Linked DNA regions of Homo sapiens: all the other regions are linked to region 2. The links are contacts of gene promoters, found by promoter capture Hi-C in blood cells and fetal thymus (Javierre and others, 2016). All regions are on one chromosome and are shown on one strand. Each heading gives the region's core, a stretch centred on a gene start or on the middle of the fragment in contact. The rest is flanking DNA. Distances are from core to core; before and after follow the strand shown. Region 1 overlaps INTS6 (integrator complex subunit 6). Region 2 holds the start of CCDC70 (coiled-coil domain containing 70). Region 3 overlaps SERPINE3 (serpin family E member 3). Region 4 overlaps INTS6 (integrator complex subunit 6). Region 5 overlaps INTS6 (integrator complex subunit 6). Region 6 overlaps NEK3 (NIMA related kinase 3). Region 7 overlaps INTS6 (integrator complex subunit 6).

Region 1 (2,743 bases), core at 45-2,544, 430 kb before region 2:
TTTTCCATTGCAAAGCAGTACTAGAGAGGATTATCTGCAGATATCAGAAGAAAATCCTTTTCAATAACTCTAATTTGTTGATTCTACCAAAACATTTGATATATCAGTTATATAACATGACAAACAGTACTGAGTATCTGGACACAGGTATGTTTATCAACATCAACGGTAACTACTAAGGAAGTAAGTAATATAGTTTTATCGTGTTTCAGAATTCAAAGTCCTATCAAACACACTCCTCGTAAGTGAAAATGCTACAACCAGTTTTATCAAATAGCTGCATTAAAAAAAAAGCCAAATATATACACATAAAATTCAATCCAAGTAATCATCAGAAATCCTAGACAGTTATCCAAAAAGACTACACTAGAAATACATTCATGACACTTCAGACAATGGCCTGGACTTTTATTAAATGAGGCCCAAGGATATAATTGAAATCATAAATTAATGTAAAATGATCATATACAGCTCAAGATTTTCATTCATAATGTATCTATTACTTTTCTTTCCTAACTCATAACACATTGCTAAGTGACGAGCTGTCCCAGAGAACAGTATTCCTACATTTTTCTGACAAACAAGTTATAAGAAATTGGTTCATTTGGGCCTATACATACTTAGCCAGGTCAAGAGACAATATGGCACCACATTTTTCCTGCCGCTAGGAAAACTATTTTCTAGGCTCAAAACAACTTTACACTGGGCTTCTTCCTAAAATTCACAGATACAAGGTAGGAGCCACACCCTATGCCAAATCATCCATAAGATCCTTGAATTCAGTCATTCAAAAATGAAATTATACTATAAAAATGCACATTATACAAGATTTGACACACGAAAGGTAATATTAACCCTTCCCCTGCTTTAGTACTCCCACACACTTAGTATGTATCCTTATTTTATCATTCATAAAACCATTTAATAGGTGATTTCCCCCATAACACTGTGAACTTAAATATTAAGAACCAGATATGTCCTGTTTATCTTTGTTATCCTCATTGCCTAGAAATGCTCTGGTCATAATAGTTTTTCATGGAACACTGAATAAGAACAGAATACCTAAAAGACACTTACATAGAAAGCTGAAGTAGACAAATAAGAAATCAGATAAATAGAAGGTAAATTTTAAGAACACACAAATTTAGAATCAAGCAAAAAGGCAGCAGCCGTATCAGGAAGAAAGCACTGGTCTGGAGGTGCTGGAATGTCTTTGGAATTGATAAATTCTAATCTAGATTTTGGCAGTAACAAATGTTATAACCTAAGCAAATCACTCTGACTCCCTGGATCTCAATTTTCTCATTTGTAAAATATAAGACTAAATGAGTTCTATATTTCCTCATATGATATAAGGATGATTTTAAAGCAGCAAGAACATTTACTCCTGAAAAACAGCACCAACAGAACAGATATAATATACAATGTTGGATAACATGACTCTTAAGCAAAGGATATCATACAGGTGGAATTATACAACTCCATAAAAAGTAATAGGTCATACCAACACCAGCCACAAGCCAAACAGGAATTATGTACACATATCTCTAATGTGGAAATTAATGACACATTCATACACTGAATAAATCTAAAAAAGAATCAAGTTCTGCCAGAGGCAAAGGTTGAGAGATGTGAAAAGACAGTGATATAAAGGCAAAATTGTTATTCCCTAGTAGGAACCAGAATACAGATCATATCTAGCATTCATGCACGTGCACAATACAAACACAGAAGAACAATACAAAAAGCATCTTTATGCTTTTCTATGAATTGAAAAGCTCCTTAAAACAAATCCCATAATTATTTAGGCTAGAATATTTCACAATATCTCACAACATTTAGCAAAAATTAATCTAGGATAACTTTCTCATTGCTCCAACGAGAGTCTCGTTGGTACATTAAGAAGAAAACACGCAGGGAATCAAAGACATTCCTAACCTTGAAACAACTCACCGGCCTATGTTCCAACTTCAAAATAATTTACTTTTGCTTTAAAACAAATGAACCTTCCACCTCAGATAATAAGGTGCAACGGTAATCAATTTTGAACTCAATGACTACCAGATTCAATACACCAATGTTTATAATCAATACTTTTTAAAAATATAGGCTCTGTTGTCAATACTATGCTAGTATTGTAAAAGATAGAACTAAAAGGTAAAAACTCTGCCCACAGGAAAATCTTCCTAACCTTACTAGCAAGGTAGTTTCAGGTTATAAACACATTGCCCTATTTTTCCAAAATCCTTCCCAAGGAAAGACATAGGAAGAAAGGTGAGCAATTCCAATACACATGTATATTTCAAGATATTTTTAAGCTAGAAGAGGTCTCCACAAAACAAATTTTACAAACAAAACAGATCCAGACATATGGAAACAAAATACATTGTACCCCAAAGGGCATTTCTACAAAGGCAGTAGACAGCACCTCAAATGCATCACCTCGCACATAAGAATACTTTACAACAGAAAACAGAAATAACTTCTCAAGCAAAATCATTATGGATAAAAACAAAACAAACATTCAAAAGACTTTTAATTTATTAATATATAAAGTTGAATGAAGCTGTTAACTATTATGTGTCCTATTAAGAAGAAAAATTAATTTGAGAGCTTCAAATTTAAAATGACTTTTTTTTTCTTTTTTTTTTTTTTTTGAGACGGAGTCTTGCTCTGTTGCCCAGGCTGGAGTGCAGTGGCACGGTCTCAGCTCACTGCAACCTCCACCTCCTGGGTTCAAGTG
Region 2 (2,851 bases), core at 126-2,625:
ATACCATGCCATTGCACTCCAGCCTGAGTGACAGAAACATGTCTCAAAAAAAAAAAAAAAAAGCATTAAAGGAAAGAATTAAAAACTATGCCTTACCAAAAAGAGACAGAAAAGTATGTGTGCATACATATATATATGTGTGTGTGTATATATATATATACACACACACACACTTTGTATACATATACTTTTATATAGATATATAGAAAAAATATATATATAGAAGTGTGTGTGTGTGTGTGTGTGTATATATATGTATATAGAAAAGCACATATATCCTTTTCTATATATAACCAAACAAATTCTGGAGACACAGTGAAAATTTCTGGAGAAATTCTGGATGGACTAGGGGTCCACTGACAGATGAATGGATAAAGAAATTGCAGCATGTATATAAAGTGGAATATTATTCAGTCATAAACAGAGAATCCTGCCGTTTGTCACAAGATAGATGAAACTGGAGAATATTATGCTAAGTGAAATAAGCCAGACACAGAAAGAAAAATGCTGCACAACTTCACTTATATGTAGAATATTAAAAAAATTAAAAAGAAGAAGTAAGAAAAAAGTCAAATACACAGACAAAGAATAAAATGGCAGCTGCTACGTGTGGGGAGTGGACGGGAAGAGGGAAATCAAAGGGTACAAAGTTGCAGATATATAGGATAAATAATTTAGAGATCTAAGGTACAACATGAGGACTGTAGTTAATAACACTGTATTAAAGATTTTTGCTAAGAGAGTAGATTGTGGGTGCTCTTGCTACAGTGCACAAAAAAGGGTAACTATATGAGATGATGGATATGTTAATTTACTTGACTATTTAAAAATTTTACTACATGACAAAAATTCTGGAGTTGAAAATGAAAAATTAAAGAGGGATTCAACAGCATATTTGAACTGACAGAAGAAAAAAATCCATGAACTTGTAAACAGGTTAATTGAGATTATCTAATCTAAGCAACAGAAAGAAAAAAGAATGAAGAAAAATGAACGTAACTTTAGAGACCTGGGGGACACACTCACGCTACTAGTATTCACATAATATGAGCCCTAGAAGGAGAGGAGACAGAGAAAATGGATGAAAGAATATTTGAAGAAATAATGGCCAAAAACTTCTGAAATTTGATGAAAAACGGCATCAAATCTGCATATCCAAGAAGCTCAACAATCTCCAAGTAGAATAAACCTCAAGACCAAGACACATCATAGTCAAACTATCAAAAGCCAAAGACGAAGAATCTGGAAAGCAGCAAGAGAAGTGATTCATCCCACACAAAGCCCCCACCAGAACATGACTTCCTAGAACCATGCTCCCGGAACCAATGCTGACAGAATCTAAGGTAACAATCACTTGTGAGTCATCAACAGCACTGCCCTATCAGTGAAGTCAAAGATTGAAGAGGAACTCTTTCAAACCTTTCAAGTGCCCCCTCCTTTCCTTAAAGTCTTTTATAGGGGTCCCCTTCTTGGCCATCTCCATCCTGTGAGTCAGGACTGAAAGGGCACAGACAGGTCACTGCCAGCATTGTTGGGGCAAGCCTGCAAGCACGCATCACTGGGGATCTGACATGACAATGGCCGCCTGCCCCCTCTGAGGGCTACAGGACTTACCCCAGTGGGAAGCAGCTAAGCAGTAAGTAACTGTTGGCTTTAGACTGTATAGTATTTGTTCTAAGCATAAGGTAATATATAATATTTTCCTTAAAAAGAAGCTCCTAGTCTTACAGTATAACTGAAAACTGGGCATGTATCTTTAGTGCATGTTTTTACAGCTATACAGATACACATCTACAGTTTTATATTGTACTTTATATTTTAATACACATCTACCTATTTGATATGGTTCTTATTTTCTTTCTTTCTTAAAGAAAGTTTAGTGTTCACTTGAGAAAAACTTGGAGGTGAATGTTTTCCAACATCCTAACCCAGTAGACGCCCATTCATCCAGCTACTATTTCCTGAACACCTATCCTGTGGCAGAACATTTCGCTGGATGCCAGACATAGAGATGGAAGATGAGGTGTTTCTAGTGGGACAGGAAGGGCACATGCTCAGTCTGAGCTTAGGAGAGATGGCCTGGAGGAGGTATCTGAGTGCTGAAGGATTCGCTAGGTGAACTGAAGTGAGGTTGGGCAAGGATATCCAGGGAGAGGGGGCCAGCATGACATGGAAGTGAGGGAGGACTTCACATATTGGAGGGATTCTAGGCAAAGAGCCATACAACATAGAAAATCAAATTTCCAAAATGCAGTTCAATTCAGTTCAATTCAACCAACATTTTCACCAATTCCCTCCTATATAGGCGGCGTTATATTATGATAGCTGCTGGGTTACAGAGATGTCAGGAAGACATGTCCACACCTAATTTCAATCAAGTGTGACAAGTAATAGTGGAGTAACAGACAGACAGTATCGCAGAGGTGGCGAGGAACTTTGTCTGGAGGGTCCGAGTAGCTTTCAGAGGGGAAAGGATGTACAGGAATTCAAGCCCACCACAGGAACAAAAGGGGCTCTCAGTAGAGGATGCGACATGTGCTTCACCACACAGGCAGGAAACTGCAGGCAGAGTGCCAAGAGCTGAATAGAGCCCGTTAATACTGGGCCTTAGATTTGGAGTTGGGTGCAGGCTGGGTAGGAAGGAGAGGGAGAAGCAAGCTGGAGTTGGGCTGCACAAGGCCTTCCTAGGGCGTTCAGCTTTGATCTTTGGGCTACAGGGTCTTTGAAGGTGTGTGAACTGATGTGATAGGACGAGAGAGTGTTCTAGAAAACACCTGTAGGGCTACAGTGCAGGGGCAGATGAGAGGGTAAGATCAATACAGAGAGCAGCGAGACTGTTACAGGCATCCTG
Region 3 (3,143 bases), core at 60-2,559, 500 kb before region 2:
AAAGAATGTGTTCTAAATGTGTTAGAAAAATGTTAATGAGCAACTCACATTTTTATCATTTTCTGTGGTTAGGCCAAGATGGCTTTTATGTTTCTGAAGCAATCCACAAGGCCAAGATTGAAGTTTTGGAGGAAGGCACCAAGGCATCTGGAGCCACAGGTATGTTCAGAGAATACCCAGTCACACTGCTTACCCATATCTACCTTTCTGAAATTTACCTAGTTGAATCTTCACACTTCTGAATCTTTCCATAACCCCCAAGTTCAGGTGTGGTGTAGTATTTTTTAAAAAGGAACACTAAAGAAAACAAAAAGTTTTTGAAAAATGACGGGGAAGAAGAGATATCCATCCCATAAAAATAATTCTGAAAGTTACCTTCAATAAGGAATTTATTCCATGGAATGTGTTGAAAACAGGAGACAGGATTGGCTAAATGGCATCTTTTCTCTTTAATTTTCCCATCTGCACCCCCATCACAACAGTAAACAATCAAATGCCATTAGGATGCTTTGATTTCTTAAAAAATTAACTTACTTCATAACCAATAGTTATTTTCTTAAAAATGCACAGAAAATGCAATGGAATTTTTCTTTCTTTCCTGCAGCTCTGTTGTTATTGAAAAGGTCTCGGATTCCTATTTTTAAAGCAGATCGGCCATTCATCTATTTCCTGAGAGAACCTAACACAGGTATTACAGTATTTTTTGACAGGATTCAGATAATTTATCAGTGTCTCTCTAGCAACAAGGGCTCATTTGTCCACTATCCCCTCAAAAATAAGCATTCTTTCTAGCTGTTTTTATGGTGCTTCAGAAGCTACCCAGTTGCTATCTTCTATCCTAAGAAAGGGGACTATTTCGTAAGTACAAAGGAAACTTATCCTCCATGTTTTTTACCTTCTCATTCTCTCAGCTCATATATAGTTAATGTAGATTTTTTTTTTTAATGCTATAGGTTTCTACTTCTGAAGACACTTGGAAAAATCATGAAAGTAAAATAAATTATAAATCTTGCCCTTTTTTCCCTTTGTCCCCTAGCTTTCTTATCATTTTAGAGTTTTTTCAGGTCACTAGAGTACACCAGAGTAGTCCTCTTGTGATCCTAGTATTCTAATGAATGCACCTGGATTTCTATACTGTTCTGTTGATCTTTCTCAAAAATCAAATGTTTGCCCTAGTACTTTTAAGTCCTACTACATAACCTTATGGTAATCCAAAGATGGTGTGGTACCGGCAAAGCCTCAGTACATCAGAAGGACACACAAATATTCTTAGGCTTCGACAATATTGAACAAAGTCTTTAGATTATTTCTCTTAATGTTCTTCCTCCCCCACTCACAATTACTTAGCCTAGGAAGGAAAAGAGATTCTCAGTTAAGAGTTGTTGGCAAGTCTAAACAGTGTATTAAAAAGAAATAGGATAGAACAAGACTAATAAAATCAAGCAAAGGTGGATCTACTTTAACTAAACATCAGGCATTACTTTTATTTATGGAGAAAAATGTCAAAAGTTAGAATGAAAATTATGCATAGTTTTACATAAATTGTTAAGGAAATACTGTCAACATCATTTTATCTGAGAATCATTTGCATCCTGCTGTACCTTGTGCTAGAAATCAAAGGAACATTTTTGTGACGAGAAAGATATAAACCATTCACTAGAAAATAATCTATTTGGGATTATTTGGAGAGAAAAAGTCCATCAACAGAGTATGTCTTCCTAGTATTTCACCATGATCATCCCAACCACATAACGATTAGATGAAAATATCACTTATCACCCAGAACAGGCGGCAGAGAGCCTTCTCTTAGAAAGGACACGTCAAAAAAATGAAAGATGAGAAAAAGGACAGGTTCTACTCCCTAAGGAAACAAAGAGACAGGACTACATTTGAACAGAAAGGTCATTGCCAAAAGCCAATAGCCAATAAAGGTTGATAGGTAAAAGAGAGATTCTGATTTTGGAATTCAAGTGCATAAAAATGATGTAAAATCCTTAAACAAGGAAAAGACACACCACTATTTCAATGGTAGGAGTTTTCAGAACTGCCTCAGTAATCAGAATGAAAATATAAGGATAATCCAAAACCAGTTCCACAATCCACTGGAATTCTAATAGTCCTTGTGACTTTACCTCTATCTGGGAGGCATTAGCCTACATCACACAACACAGTGGCTGCTCTTCTGGTGATGGTTATGGAAGAGTTTAGAAATGAGTCTCAGCCTTCATTATTTCCAACTGACAAATCTTACTAAGAGCAACTAATGAATCAATCAGCAAATGAGAAACATGGGAGACATTAAAAAAAAAGATTTGAAAACCTCAAGATTAAACTTTCCAAGAATATCATTTGTCGAGCCTTAAGTCATTCAGTGACATAAAGGGCCTAAAAGACATGATGTTTCCCCTAGATGTATTTCCCTTCCCCTTTGACAATAATTCTACAACAAGTATTCTAATTTAACTAATATACCCATTTTTTTTTTAAATGAAAAAAGCCTGAGGGAGATGAGATATTAACCTTTAGTTCTGATAGGTTTCAAACCCTCCTGACCAGGTTTTAGGATGAGGTGAGAACAGTGGCAGAGAGATAAAGGACAAAAAGAAGAGATGAACAAAACTGCTACTTCTCACCTCCCTCCAGGGTTCATTCAGAAAAATGTATTAAAGGTCATGAGCAATCTGTGAAACAGAAAATAAAACTTTCTGATAAGGAAAGCTGCTCAATATTGGGATGGGCTGAATCTCTTTCCTAGATACTCTTGTTAAGTATGAATTTTTATCTGAATGACTTCTAATTCCTCCTAGTAATTCCAGAATCTAAATATATATAATTTAGGAACAGACAATATATTCTGGATTTTGTGTAACTCTCAATGAATTTAGCAATGTGACTACAGGCAATTACCTTAACAATTCCATCTATTAAATGTTATCTTGCATTACTTAAAAGTATTTGTATAGAAGTAAACAAAGCTTAAAGAACTGCATATGAAAATACTATATAATATTAAATTCTTCTTTTTCTTGACAGGGTTTGTCTTCAGTATTGGGAGAGTTTCAAATCCCCTAGACTAAATGCATGTTCTCCACTTTCATCAATGCTTTTCTTCATAAAGTTATAATTTCATTTTGCTATACCCT
Region 4 (3,050 bases), core at 502-3,001, 470 kb before region 2:
AGTGGAGGGAAAGATCCTCTAGAACTTGGCCAAGAAAATTTTGCATATATGATTTTGTTTAATTCCCAAAACAACCCTATGAGATGGAGCTATAAGCCACTTAACAGATGGGAAATTGAAGCTTACAAAAGATAACCAAAGGTACTAATTAATAACTAATAGTGCCGTGATTCAAATTCACATCTTGTAAATTACACTTAACTTCAGTAGCAATATTTCTTCAATATTGTAATTTATAAAAATTTCACTTCCCCTAATATCCTTCAGTTACTAAAGTTTGCCAGTTCTTTCCAATATTATTTATTATTCTCTCTTCCATCATCATAATTCAACCACTTAAAATCTCTTACGTGAACCATATCAATAGCCCTCATAGGTAACCTACCTGCCTTTCAACTCATCTCCCCTTCTAATTTTACTGCATATAACCACCACCAAATCAATTTTTCTAAAGATGTCTGTTAAAAACATCTTCGACTGCTCTTTGAACTCCACTGTTTAAAAGCTAATATTCCTTAACCCTGCATTTAAAGTCATAAGCAATTTGGTTAGTTTAATAGTACTCTCAATGTCCTATATACATGTTATGATCCACCCGTACTCAGCTACTTGTTACTCCTCTAAACATACCTTGTTCTTTTTCACTTCCATATTTTTTTTCTCATACTATTTCCTTCTCCAATTGAAGTCCTACCTACCCTCTATGGCTTCTAAGAATTTGTGATAGACTGCTAGAGCAGCATTAATAGATAAGGGTTCTGATACTGGTTTTGGATTTCTTTCCATTACAACTCAGGTACTGTATGTTCTCCTGTACATGTTAAATAAATAGAATAAATAACCAACATGACAATATTTCATACAAATACGGTATCTGTTCTGTAAGAGTTGAAAGAGCTCCAGAAAAGAAAGTAAAATGACCAAAGAAATTGGAAGTTTCTCCATAAAGCCAGACTAAAAAACTATGATGGTTCTATCAGAAAAAAAGAAAAGGTATAATGAAGATACTTCAATGAAATTTAGAAAACCTTAACTTCATGCACTACTTTATTAAATCCCTAATGAATAAAGGAAATATCACTTTATAAACTCAAAATAAAAATTATCCTGAAAAGCTGATACAGGTTTGAAGTACAAAAGGTTTCAAAAAGGTTTTGTTGTATCAAACATTATTAGACTGCTTAATGATCTCTGAAATACAATTCTTATTTTCTAAAGGTAAAATCAAGGAGAACCACTGCCATGCTCTCCCACAAAATATCCCTTAATGCCCTCAGATACTTAGAAAAAAAATATGGAAAAAAAGAGTACACTAACACGACTAAATGGATATTAATTTGTATAAATGTACCCTATTATTTTAAGAATTATATAATGAATACTGATAATTCACCATGATCGCTCAGCAAACTTCATTTTTCCTAAAAATAATTCAGGTAAACAAAATCAGAAAATCTGTTCTAGCTTAAACCTCCAATCTGCAACACTGTATATAACTAAAACCATACATATCAATATGAATTTAAGACTAAGTCCTAAAAAATTGCAGGCAAACTATCAAAATTATTTTCTAAGCCTTCATTTAAATCCTAAATTGTGTCCCAGAGACAAATCCTCATTTAGAGTCTAAAGAGGAAATTTTGAACCCAGAAGCCAAGAATAAAAATCGCAAGCATAGTATTAGATTCTAAACGAAGGAGATGCCTTTTTTCTATTACTTCATAATAAACAAAGTAACAGGGTTATCATAGCAAAGCAACATAATAAAGCAAGTAACAGGGTATCATAGCACTTTGAACATCTGTCTAATCCCCATAAATTAATCACAGCTTTGACAACAGAATTTGAAACTAATAGGAAAGACAGCTGAATGGTTACTATTACATAGTTACAGTCTCTGGTACTTACTAGTGTTGGCGAATTTTGATCTGGCCAAAAAGACTCTGGAACAGGCCAATGACCTATAGGAACCCCAGTTTTAGGATTTGGTCTGACATATATGAGTTTGTGACAGCTATGCCAAGGCTGAGATCCAAAAGGCCTTGATATATCTGGCTGCCCATCTATAGCAAAGAAATTAAGACAAAGAAAGCATATATCATAAGGGGGGATAAGCATAAAAAGTTAAATTATATCAATTATTACTTAAATTAATAAAAAATTCCTAATATCTTTTTCCAGGTTTTCCTATTTTTCTTAAATGGCAGAACACTATGTCTGCTGAATATTTAGACTAGATTGTAATTCATTAGACAATAAGTACAAATTCCAACTATGAGTTCGCCAGTTCAAAGGAGGTCCGCAGCATCCTTTGCCTTCCCAACTGGAACACACAAAACATACTTTACGGTGAATATCTGTTTGATGAATGGCATGTTTTCTTCATCAGATGATAAGAGCAAGCACCCAATTTGCCACCTTTATCATCATATCCCAAATGTCAAAAACAGTGCCAGGCACACAATAAATACTAGAATAAATAAGTACTGCAAATTGAGTATTTCTTAGAAATCATTTTAACCGAAGCCTAAAAAAAGAACTTAATAAGCAAATCTAGACCAAAGCACCTACCTTTAATCTAAAATAATTTTAGCAAAACAGCAACTATCTTCAACAATCCAGTAAACATTTACTAGTAACAAACTCTAAACAAAGCATTAAAATAATTTAAAATAAATACACTGTAACAATTAAAATTTTTTTAAGTTTGGTTTCGTTAAAGCAGACATGACACAACTTATTGTTATCACCCATTCCTTCCCTATAGTACCCTCTCAGTGCCCCCATTCTTTCATCTCTATGATCTTTCTCTTCTCCCAGGTACCTACTTTAGTGGACCACCTCTGCCAATTATCATTAAATGATTCTCTAAATCTTTGTGTGTGTGTGTGTTTTGTTTTTTTTTGTTTTTGTTTTTGTTTTTCTTTTTTTTTGAGATGGAGTTTCACTCTTGTTGCCCAGGCTGGAGTGCAATGGTGTGATCTCCACTCACCGCAACCTCCACCTCCCGGGTTCAAGCAGTTCTCCTGCCTCAGCCTCCCGAGTAGCTG
Region 5 (3,047 bases), core at 291-2,790, 410 kb before region 2:
TAGGAACGTAAAATGGTACAACTGCTATGAAAAACAGTATGGTACTTCCTCAAAAAATTTAAAATGGAATTACAATATGATCCTGTCATTTCATTTCAGGGTATATATCCAAAAGAACTGGAAGCAGGATCTCAAAAAGTTACTTACACAACCATGTTCATTGCAGCATTATTCACAACAGCCAAGAAGTGGAAGCAACCCAAGTGACTATCAATGGATATGTGGATAAGCAAAATGTGGTACATACAATAGAGTATTATTCAGCCTTAAAAAGGATGAAAAAATCCTGACATGCTAAAATATAAATGAATGTTGAGAACATTATGCTAAGTGAAATGAGCCCATCTAAAAAGGCAAATACTGTATGATTTCACTTAACTGTGATATCCAGAGTAGACAAATTCATAAAAACAGAAAGTAGAATAGAGGTTTCCAGGGACTGGGAGTTACTTGATATAGAGTTTCAATTTTGCAAGATAAAAAAGTTCTGGATATTGGTTGCACAGCAATATGAATATACTTAACACTACTGAACTGCACACTTAAAGATGGTTAAGATGGTAAATTTTGTTAGGTGTTTCTTACCACAATTTAAAAAAAAATTTTAATTAAAGGAATTAAAAAATTTACAAAATACTATTCATCATTGTGTTTCCAGTTTATATTCAACACAGCAGTATTTCAGGTATAGTAATTAACTTACTTTCATTTGAAAAGATGTCTATAGCTTAATAAATATCAAACTCTTATTCATACATTTGTTGATAATCTAAGAGAAACCAAGCACCCAAATGGAAATGGAGTTCTCACTACTTCACCTGCCAGCCTTCAAAAAGAAGCCTGTATTTCACACTACCTATTAAATGGGTACTATTTAGGTAAAGGGAAAAAAAAGTAGTATTAGAACTATAACTGTATTATCTCCTAAGTTTACAAAATAGACCTTTATGCTCAAAAATAAAATTGGTTAAAATTCTTTTCCCTGAGAATCATTAAATTTGATATTGTACGAAAGCCACCATTTTTCAATGAGGTAAACATTCACCATAGAAAATCCTCAAAAAATTAAGCACATATTTTATCTCCTTTTAAGATATCTGTCAAGGATTGTCTTCACCAAGGGCACATAGTAGGAAAGGTGCCATTCTAACTCCTGGAACAATTTAATCAGTACTAACATACTTCAGGTAGCAGGGGTGTGGAATCAGGTCAGTAACAAAAACGGACTTGCAGGCCAGAGTAAAGATATATTGGCTAATCTTAACTAACATAATTTACTGAAAAAAAAAAAAAAAAAAAAAAAAGACAATGTTGAAAATATCGGGCCGGGTGCTGTGGCTCACGCCTGTAATCCTAGCACTTTGGGAGGCCAAGGTGGGCAGATCACCTGAGTTCAGGAGTTCGAGACCAGCCTGACCAACATAGAGAAACCCAGTCTCTACTAAAAATACAAAATTAACCAGGCATGGTGGCTCAAGCCTGTAATCCCAGCTGCTCAGGAGGCTGAAGCATGAGAATGGCTTGAACCCAGGAGGAGGAGGCTGCGGTGAGCCGAGATCGCGCCACTGCACTCCAGCCTCGGCAACAAGAGAGAAACTCTGTCTCAAAAAAAATATACATATATATTGATGGAAAACAGGATGACCTGTAACAATAAGAAAATTAACTCATCTACATATAAAACTTTAATCAGACCTCTCACATTTTATACATTTCCTAATTTTAGATATTAAGGCTGCTTCAGACTTTCAGCAGGTCTCAAAGGATCAGCATTATTTGAAACTCTGTTGAACACACGTGAAAAACTTATGTATCAAATTTATCTGCAATGATATGCAACTTAAAGTACTGCTATAAAGGAAAAGATTGACTAAAGGCTATACATTGCTCCATTACTGTAGAAATATCAGTAAATGGTACTGATTATCAAAATTAAATATTTATAACAATGTCTGTAGGCATGGAATTTTTTAGTGGGATACCCAAAGTGCTTGAGGAAAACATTCACTAAGAACCATTCTTTTTTCTCAGTTACTTAACCTTACTAATGCCCTGCAAATTCTGATAGCATCCTAGCTAATAATTCAAAGATGTTTTATCTGTAGGTATGTTAACTAAGTTAACAAATGCAATATAGATTTAATAGTCTTGTAATTAGTTATGAAAAATCATATATGTGCATATATGTGGGAGAATGGTGGATATCTACATAAATATACAAATATATATATTAACCCAGACATTTAAGAAAGTAATTCAGAACATTAAAGTTTTTAGATGTTCTATAAAATATATACGTTCTATCTTCCACCTAATCTTTTCTCATTTCCTTCAACTACTAACGTTACATACAAGTATTTAGTACTGTGAACACCACAGATCCTAGTATAGAGCAGGAAAGGGGAAATACTTATGTAAAGACATTGAAGTTACAAAATAAAAGTATTCCACAGCAAACAGGCAGATACAAAGTACTTTTACAAAGAAGAAAACACATGAACAATATTCAGTATTAAATATTTGAGACATCCAAAATTCCTAATCATTTATCCTTGTTGTGAATAGAAAACATGAAATGTTTAAATCAGATAGTTTTATGATGAAAAAAATCTTCTGGAAGAATGTTTTCTTCCAATTCAATACTCTTTACTCAAATTATCATTTTCATTTGAAAACAGTGGCTTATTTTAATGCTAGTGTCATTTTTAATGTGCCAATTCAAGACATAAGCATTAATATTATGCTTTGCAATCTTTGCTGATTCATCAGAATAAGTGAGAAGCATCATCCCTCTCTGTTATTGAATTAATAAATCCTGACATGCAAAAACATCCCAATCTCCAGGTTCTTCTCTTGGTCAAAGTGGTAACAGCACAGGACCACCTTTCCCGCAAACTTTTGGTAAGCCTTATAGACAAGAACTAAAGTGTTCTCTGGGGGCAGATATCAACTGGGAAAAGGAAAATACAGGTTTAAATTACAAATGTCCTCAGCCTCTCCATGACAAGCAGTTTTTCGAAGGAAGCAATCTTTAAGAAGTATTTTTA
Region 6 (2,941 bases), core at 81-2,580, 270 kb after region 2:
GTTTCTTTAGTGAAATATTCTCATCTCACTGAAGTGCACACTATTAGATGAGGTTCACACACGACAGGACCCAGCACGTGTGCGCCATGCCTCCTCCTATTCGTTCCACATCACTCTCTAGTTTCTGATATTTACCATTAACTGCTCCTCACCTCTGGCCTCTTCCTTCCTCATCTACAGGACTGCCATCTTCTGACAAGATCTGCAGACCACCCCAAGCTTCCCAGGGCTGACCCTCCAACCCAGGCTCTTTTGTGCATCCTATGAGGGACTGTATTTAAGGACAGCTGGTAGTTGGTGAAGATCATTGGAATGATCTTCAAACTACTCAGAATCAGGTCATATTGAAAAACTGCACACATTACTAAATCATAATTAAATATATTTAATTCTCAAACCTTTAGGAAATGTAAAAAGAGTCACATAATAATAAACACATATCATAATGTGAATAATATCATACGGGCTGCTATAAAGGTCTGTGGTCAGCATCCCTCTGAGGTAGGCATTATTATCTTCATTTTATGGTTGAGGAAATTGGGGCTTGAAGAGGTTAAGTAATTTCCCACAATCACACAAGTAGGTAGTGGCACGCTAGCATCCCATTTCTGTTCTATGGGACTGCAAAGCCCGATGCTCACACTCATTCCACTATACCTTCTCCCTTGAGTTCAAAAACTTACAGGAGTTCTAGACTTTTCAAACTCACGATACTAATCAAGAACGATTTTAAGTATTAAGAGTTTCCTCTGCTTCATTCTGTTTCCAAAGGAAAATATACGTCGCATGAACTCATGATCATCTCAGCATGAACTCCTGAGTGAAGCCTCTCCTCAGCGTGACTCAGGAACATTTCCTCAGGCATTATCTGTCGCACAGGCCTTGCCATCCAGCTCGCTTCTTCAGCTCTGACACCCAGTCGGGGTTGTCATCTTCCTCCTCAAAGTCCCTGTGAAAAAACAATTTGGACCATAAACCTCTACATTAGGGGCACAGTATCTGTTGATGAGTTCAAAGCGGAATACCACCATAACAATACTTAAGCTTTTGAAAATTGAGTTCCATAAGGCAACTGAAGGGAAAAAATTGCCAGTTCTTCCAAAAGATCACTTCTTTGACTGTTTCTAAAACTTTTAAAAATATAAATCCTAATATATTAAAAAATAACAAGTCCAAGCTGAAAGGCTATAGGTGTAGGGCTCAATCAGGAATTTTATAATCATATTGTAAGGCATTACCCATCCCAGACAAAAGATCAGGATATAAATATCCATTTATGATGAAAAGTAATATAAGAGGTCCCTACTAAATCTGAAATTATCATGGTCTAATTTAAATCACACACACACACACACACACACACACACACCCCCAACCCCAGCTACAGCTTTCTATGCATATCACAACGTACGTGTCCTCCTCATCTAGCCCAGGCTCAAGTCGCTCTGGATCCAAAATGACAGAATCGTGACCTCCATCAACACTGTCCGATGCTTCTGTTTCTTCAGACAGGGGGCCTTTCAAGAACCCTTCTGAACCTTCAGGAGATATTAACAGAAAATATACCAATTTAAACAGTATTTACTTATTTCATGCAGTTTGATTAAAATCCTCCGTAAGCTTGCTGGCTGAGGACAATGCCATGTCCCATAACTCTTTTGTAGTGTCTCCCCACATTACCCAACATGATTGTAGGCATAAAACAGGCCCCTGAAGCAGAAGCACTGGGATGTGGACTAAATTTATAAACAGTACTTTATTCTTTTTTTTTGAGTCAGGGTCTCACTCTGTCACCCAGGCTGGAGTGCAGTGGCATGATCATAGCTCAATGCAGCCTCGAACTCCCAGGCTCAAGAGCTCCTCCTACCTCAGTCTCCCAAGTTGCTGGGACTAGAGGTGTCCAGAACCATGCCTGGCTAATTTTTTTAGTAGAGGCGAGGTCTCGCTATGTTGTTCAGGCTTGTCTTGAACTCCTGAGCTCAAGCAATCCTCCTGCTTCAGCCTCCCAGAGTGCTGGGATTACAGGCGTGAGCCACCACAGCTAGCCTATAAACAGGATTTTCTTTAAGAGAAAAAAAAAACTCGGAAAATTGCCATAAAACCCTCCCAATATAAGAATGTATATTAAGGCATTAAAAGTTACCCTTGGAAGTTGGGTTATAGTAATTTCTTTTTTCCTTTGAACTTTCTCCTCCCAAGTTTTCACAATGGGGAGGAAGAAAAGTAGGGAACTGAAGGAAGACCACATGCATGCTTAAAAAAATTTTCCAGGTATAATTACTTTTAGATTTTTCACAAACAGCATGAAAACCTAACCTAAAAACATGGGCCGAATCTTCTAAAAGGCATTTCAAAATAGCACTATGACATATTTTTTAAACAGGGACTTTCCTAAAATGACAAAGACTTCATCACTGGACCAGACACAAAATCCAGGACCTAAAATTGCAAAATTGAAATTCATAACCGTTAAACTTCCTTAACATTTTCCTCCCATGCATTAGCCTCTCCTTAGGGCTTCCATGATCTTTTGTGCACAGCTCTATCTGAATGCATGTATCACAGGGCACTATAATTCTTTATCAGTGTGCTGACCTCCCACGTAAAGAACTCCTTCATCCTTAGGGCAGGAATTGTGTTTTATTCTTTTTTTTATCTTAACCTTTGTTAGGCATTCAATAAATACTGACCAAATAAATACAACTACATCGTTGCAATAAATAGAGTCAGACTTGCCATACCATTACATGCTCTACTTGGTATAATCTATCTTAGATCTTAACCTAGCAAGATGGCTTAGTAATTAAATTATTATAATTATAATACACATACACATATACATATCTAATACAGACCACTGGCCTGGATTCCTAAGGAGAGTATTATAAAAAAATTATTTTATACAATGTTAGTAAAAATATCTGTAAAAAAATTTAAAAAT
Region 7 (3,073 bases), core at 107-2,606, 460 kb before region 2:
AGCTATAACTCAGGATTTATTTAATGAAAGGCAACACATTACACATTGTAATCTTCTACTTTCAAAAACATGTAAGTAAACAATTATGTGTTATGATATGTACAACAATAAAAATATGCATAAAGTACAAAAGAATAAATGATTAGGGGACAAACCAGGGAAGACTTCTCAGAGGAAGTAGCATCTGAGCAAGTGTGAAGAATAATAAGTTTACTGAGAATCCAGAACCTCATGCAAGTTAGGGAGTAATGAAGAGTGAAGATCATGATCAAACACATAGGAGACAAGAAATAATAATAATAAATACTGGGATGAAAACTAAATTAAACTTCAGAACTGGTGGAGAATACAGTGCAAAGGAGGAGAGAAAGATTTTTAAGAAAGCCTTTAATCCTTTAAGGATGGGTTGGATTTTAATATAGGGAGATAGAGAAATAACGTCCAGGGAAAAGGAGTACATGAGGAAAGAAAGAGGAAGTGTTCAGGAAATCAGCAGCCCAGTTGAGGTCAAGCTTAAAGAAAATGCAGAGGAATAATTAGGAAATTTTCTTCGTTCCCCAGTCCTCTCAATGTATCTGTCTTTTGGAGTTATACTTAGCCTATCAATTCTTGGATTTCCCTACTGTTAATTTTTTTTTCATAAACAACTCTTACACTAAGTCATCAATGGGTTTTTGTTTTGTTTTGGCTTGGTTACTCTGGTAGATGGCACAGTACTCCGAAGCACTCAAAGGTATTCAGAGTCTAAGTCTTACTAGGCCTAGCAGCCTTATTTCCACTTCCATGGAAGCTGGCTACCATGTAAAAAAGCTTGAATTATGCTACTAAATGATGGAGACAGAAGCCACAGAGATGAGAAGCAAGGTCCCCCAGAAAACTGGCAGCACCAAAGCCCCAGACATATAAATAAGACCATCTTGTACGTTCCAGTCCTGGATAAGCCTGGGGCTTATGTAACAAACTCACAAATTCTTAAGAAATAATAAACTGTTGTTTTAAGTCACTAAGTTTTGGGATGACTTGTTACACAGCAGCAGATCTCTCCTTGAGTCATTAAATCCATTGGAGATTTTCAAATCTGGCTTCCAAGCAGCATTCAAAACTACTTCCCAGTCTTTTGAAAGGAATCTTCCTTTGGCTTTCATGCTGAAATATTTTCATGGTTTTCCTTCTCTCCTCTGGCTGCTACTGCCTTCCATCCTCACCCCTAACCTAGACACAATCTCCAATACCTAACTAGTAAGTGCTGCAGATCCGCAAGAATCAGTCTTAGGTCTTGCCCAATGTATAGTCTCAACCCCCAACCCTACTACTCACAGCTTCAATTCCTATCAATAATCAAATAATAAAAACTGTATTTTGAGCCTCTATCTCTCTCTGAGCACCAAATATTCTGCCTCATGACACACCCCCCTGAATGGCTCAAAGGGTATGTCAAACTAAACATGTTCAAAACTGAACTTAAGATTTTCCTCTACCCAAAATGGTCCTCTTCCAATATTCCCTAACTCAGTAAAATGGCATCATTTATCGAATAATGGATAACCACCTCCTCCCTGTTTCTTACGTCACCTCCTCCCTGTTTCTTACACCCCCAACTGCATTATATGTCAGCAGGTTTTACTGATTTAACCTCCTAAGTATCTCTTGAAACTGAAACTCTTCTGCCATCACCAACCTCCTTGACCAAGCTATTGTCAAGACTAAACAACAATGCTCCAACGGAGACCACTTTTATCTCCCTCTCCTCCACCCCCTACCTCTAAATAAAACCCTTGGATGGCTTCTTATTGCTTTTATATTAATAATATTACTCAGCATGGTCTGGAAGCCCCCTGTATGGTCAAGTCCAACCTTCTTTTCCATCTTGTACTACGATCCCTCTTCTTTTATGCTCTAAGCCAAGCTTGTCCAACCCGTGGTCCACAGGCTGCATGTAGCCCAGTATGGTTTTGAATGTGGCCCAACACAAATTTGTAAACTTTCTTAAAACATTATGAGATTTTTTTGTGATTTTTTTTTTTTTTTTAGCTCATCAGCTATCATTAGTGTTAGTGTATTTTATGTGTGGCCCAAGACAATTGTTCTTCCTTCCAATGTGCCCCTGGGAAGCCAAAAGATTGGACACCCCTGTGTCTAAGCCACAGTAGCCTTCTTTCAGTTCTTCATTCTCAAAATATATTCCTTTCAGAGGAAAAAAAAAAAAGCCTTTGTACATGCTAGTCCCTCTGTCTGGTACAATCCTCTTTTCTATTTTTTGAGTAACAAATCCTACTCTCTTCAGATCTTGGCTCTCCAATGACCTCCTTGACCAGATCTAATTCATTATAAGCTCTCATAGCACATATTCCTCCATCCTGTCTGGTTCATAGAACCTAATAAATATGGCTGAATGAATACATGGATGGATGAATAAATAATGTGACTGGCTAAGTTGTGAAGGGCACTGAGCAACCTAGTAGACAATGGAAAGCAATGAAACATTGTGAACAGTAGAGTAATACACTCAAGTGGTATGCTTTAAAATAATTTTGCAACCTGCAGGACAGACTGAAAGCAGCCAAGACAAGCTAGAAAGCTAACACAATCATTTAAAAAAGCACTAGGATGATTGATAACAAAAATAATAGGAATGAAAGAAACAGACTCATAAAAGCAAAAATCCAGGGACTGATACCAAATACAGAGGAAAAAATATAGAATACGGTATGTCCTAATGTTCTGTCTACCTTAACTATTATAGTGTTGATTTAACATATTCAAAATGATAACAAGGTACTATAATAAAGTATGATTTTAAAAAAAGACTACAAAACTAAGTTCCAAATAGACGCATACATACACCATAAGAGTGTTTCTGTACGGTATGGCCAGGCATAGTGGTTCATGCCTAAATCCCAGCAATTTGGGACTTGAGGCCAGGAGTTTGAGACCAGTCTGGCCAACACAGCAAAAGCTCGTCTGTACTAAAAATACAAAAATTAGCCAGACATGGTGGCACACGCCTGTAATCCCAGCTACTCGGGAGGCTGAGGCTGGAGAATCGCTTGAACCCAAGAGGCAGAGGTTGCAG

What was found. The method cuts DNA at HindIII sites, captures the fragments that hold promoters and counts their contacts. A CHiCAGO score of 5 or more calls a contact.
Region 1: a contact is called between a fragment that was not itself captured here and the fragment with the promoter of CCDC70 in region 2, in 3 of 17 cell types (naive CD4 T cells, total CD8 T cells and total CD4 T cells). The highest score is 6.4, in naive CD4 T cells.
Region 3: a fragment that was not itself captured here is called in contact with the fragment with the promoter of CCDC70 in region 2 in 2 of 17 cell types (erythroblasts and total CD8 T cells); the score reaches 6.1 in erythroblasts.
Region 4: a fragment that was not itself captured here is called in contact with the fragment with the promoter of CCDC70 in region 2 in 2 of 17 cell types (non-activated CD4 T cells and total CD8 T cells); the score reaches 5.9 in non-activated CD4 T cells.
Region 5: a fragment that was not itself captured here is called in contact with the fragment with the promoter of CCDC70 in region 2 in 1 of 17 cell types (total CD4 T cells); the score reaches 6.1 in total CD4 T cells.
Region 6: a fragment that was not itself captured here is called in contact with the fragment with the promoter of CCDC70 in region 2 in 4 of 17 cell types (megakaryocytes, erythroblasts, total CD4 T cells and 1 more); the score reaches 6.6 in megakaryocytes.
Region 7: a contact is called between a fragment that was not itself captured here and the fragment with the promoter of CCDC70 in region 2, in 5 of 17 cell types (total CD8 T cells, total CD4 T cells, monocytes and 2 more). The highest score is 7.6, in total CD8 T cells.

Annotation. Positions count from the first base shown.
Region 1 is chr13:51,425,686-51,428,428 of GRCh38, forward strand. All of the region lies in intron 4 of INTS6 (integrator complex subunit 6), which reads right to left. Among named protein-coding and RNA genes, the nearest start is that of INTS6, 26 kb to the right of the region's middle. The HindIII fragment of the contact is 8,376 bases long and covers 1-2,743 here.
Region 2 is chr13:51,860,594-51,863,444 of GRCh38, forward strand. CCDC70 (coiled-coil domain containing 70) reads left to right here and starts at 1,376. Exons shown (of 2, transcript NM_031290.4): 1 at 1,376-1,636. It also overlaps a transcript of TMEM272 not described here. RefSeq lists an enhancer at 978-2,177. The HindIII fragment of the contact is 6,103 bases long and covers 1-2,851 here.
Region 3 is chr13:51,361,206-51,364,348 of GRCh38, forward strand. SERPINE3 (serpin family E member 3) reads left to right here. Exons shown (of 10, transcript NM_001386375.1): 8 at 73-159; 9 at 605-688; 10 at 3,034-3,143. The coding sequence ends at 3,077. INTS6 (integrator complex subunit 6) reads right to left here. Exons shown (of 18, transcript NM_012141.3): 18 at 372-3,143. Among named protein-coding and RNA genes, the nearest start is that of MIR5693, 14 kb to the left of the region's middle. The HindIII fragment of the contact is 3,328 bases long and covers 1-2,973 here.
Region 4 is chr13:51,385,478-51,388,527 of GRCh38, forward strand. It overlaps INTS6 (integrator complex subunit 6), which reads right to left. Exons shown (of 18, transcript NM_012141.3): 7 at 1,909-2,063. Among named protein-coding and RNA genes, the nearest start is that of MIR5693, 38 kb to the left of the region's middle. The HindIII fragment of the contact is 3,264 bases long and covers 120-3,050 here.
Region 5 is chr13:51,446,454-51,449,500 of GRCh38, forward strand. All of the region lies in intron 3 of INTS6 (integrator complex subunit 6), which reads right to left. Among named protein-coding and RNA genes, the nearest start is that of INTS6, 5.1 kb to the right of the region's middle. The HindIII fragment of the contact is 3,998 bases long and covers 1-3,047 here.
Region 6 is chr13:52,132,278-52,135,218 of GRCh38, forward strand. It overlaps NEK3 (NIMA related kinase 3), which reads right to left. Exons shown (of 16, transcript NM_002498.3): 15 at 1,412-1,538; 16 at 370-949. The coding sequence ends at 865. It overlaps LOC101929657 (a long non-coding RNA gene), which reads left to right. Exons shown (of 2, transcript NR_110306.1): 2 at 181-446. Among named protein-coding and RNA genes, the nearest start is that of NEK5, 4.7 kb to the left of the region's middle. RefSeq lists an enhancer at 74-1,273. The HindIII fragment of the contact is 576 bases long and covers 1,043-1,618 here.
Region 7 is chr13:51,404,887-51,407,959 of GRCh38, forward strand. All of the region lies in intron 4 of INTS6 (integrator complex subunit 6), which reads right to left. Among named protein-coding and RNA genes, the nearest start is that of INTS6, 47 kb to the right of the region's middle. The HindIII fragment of the contact is 1,096 bases long and covers 809-1,904 here.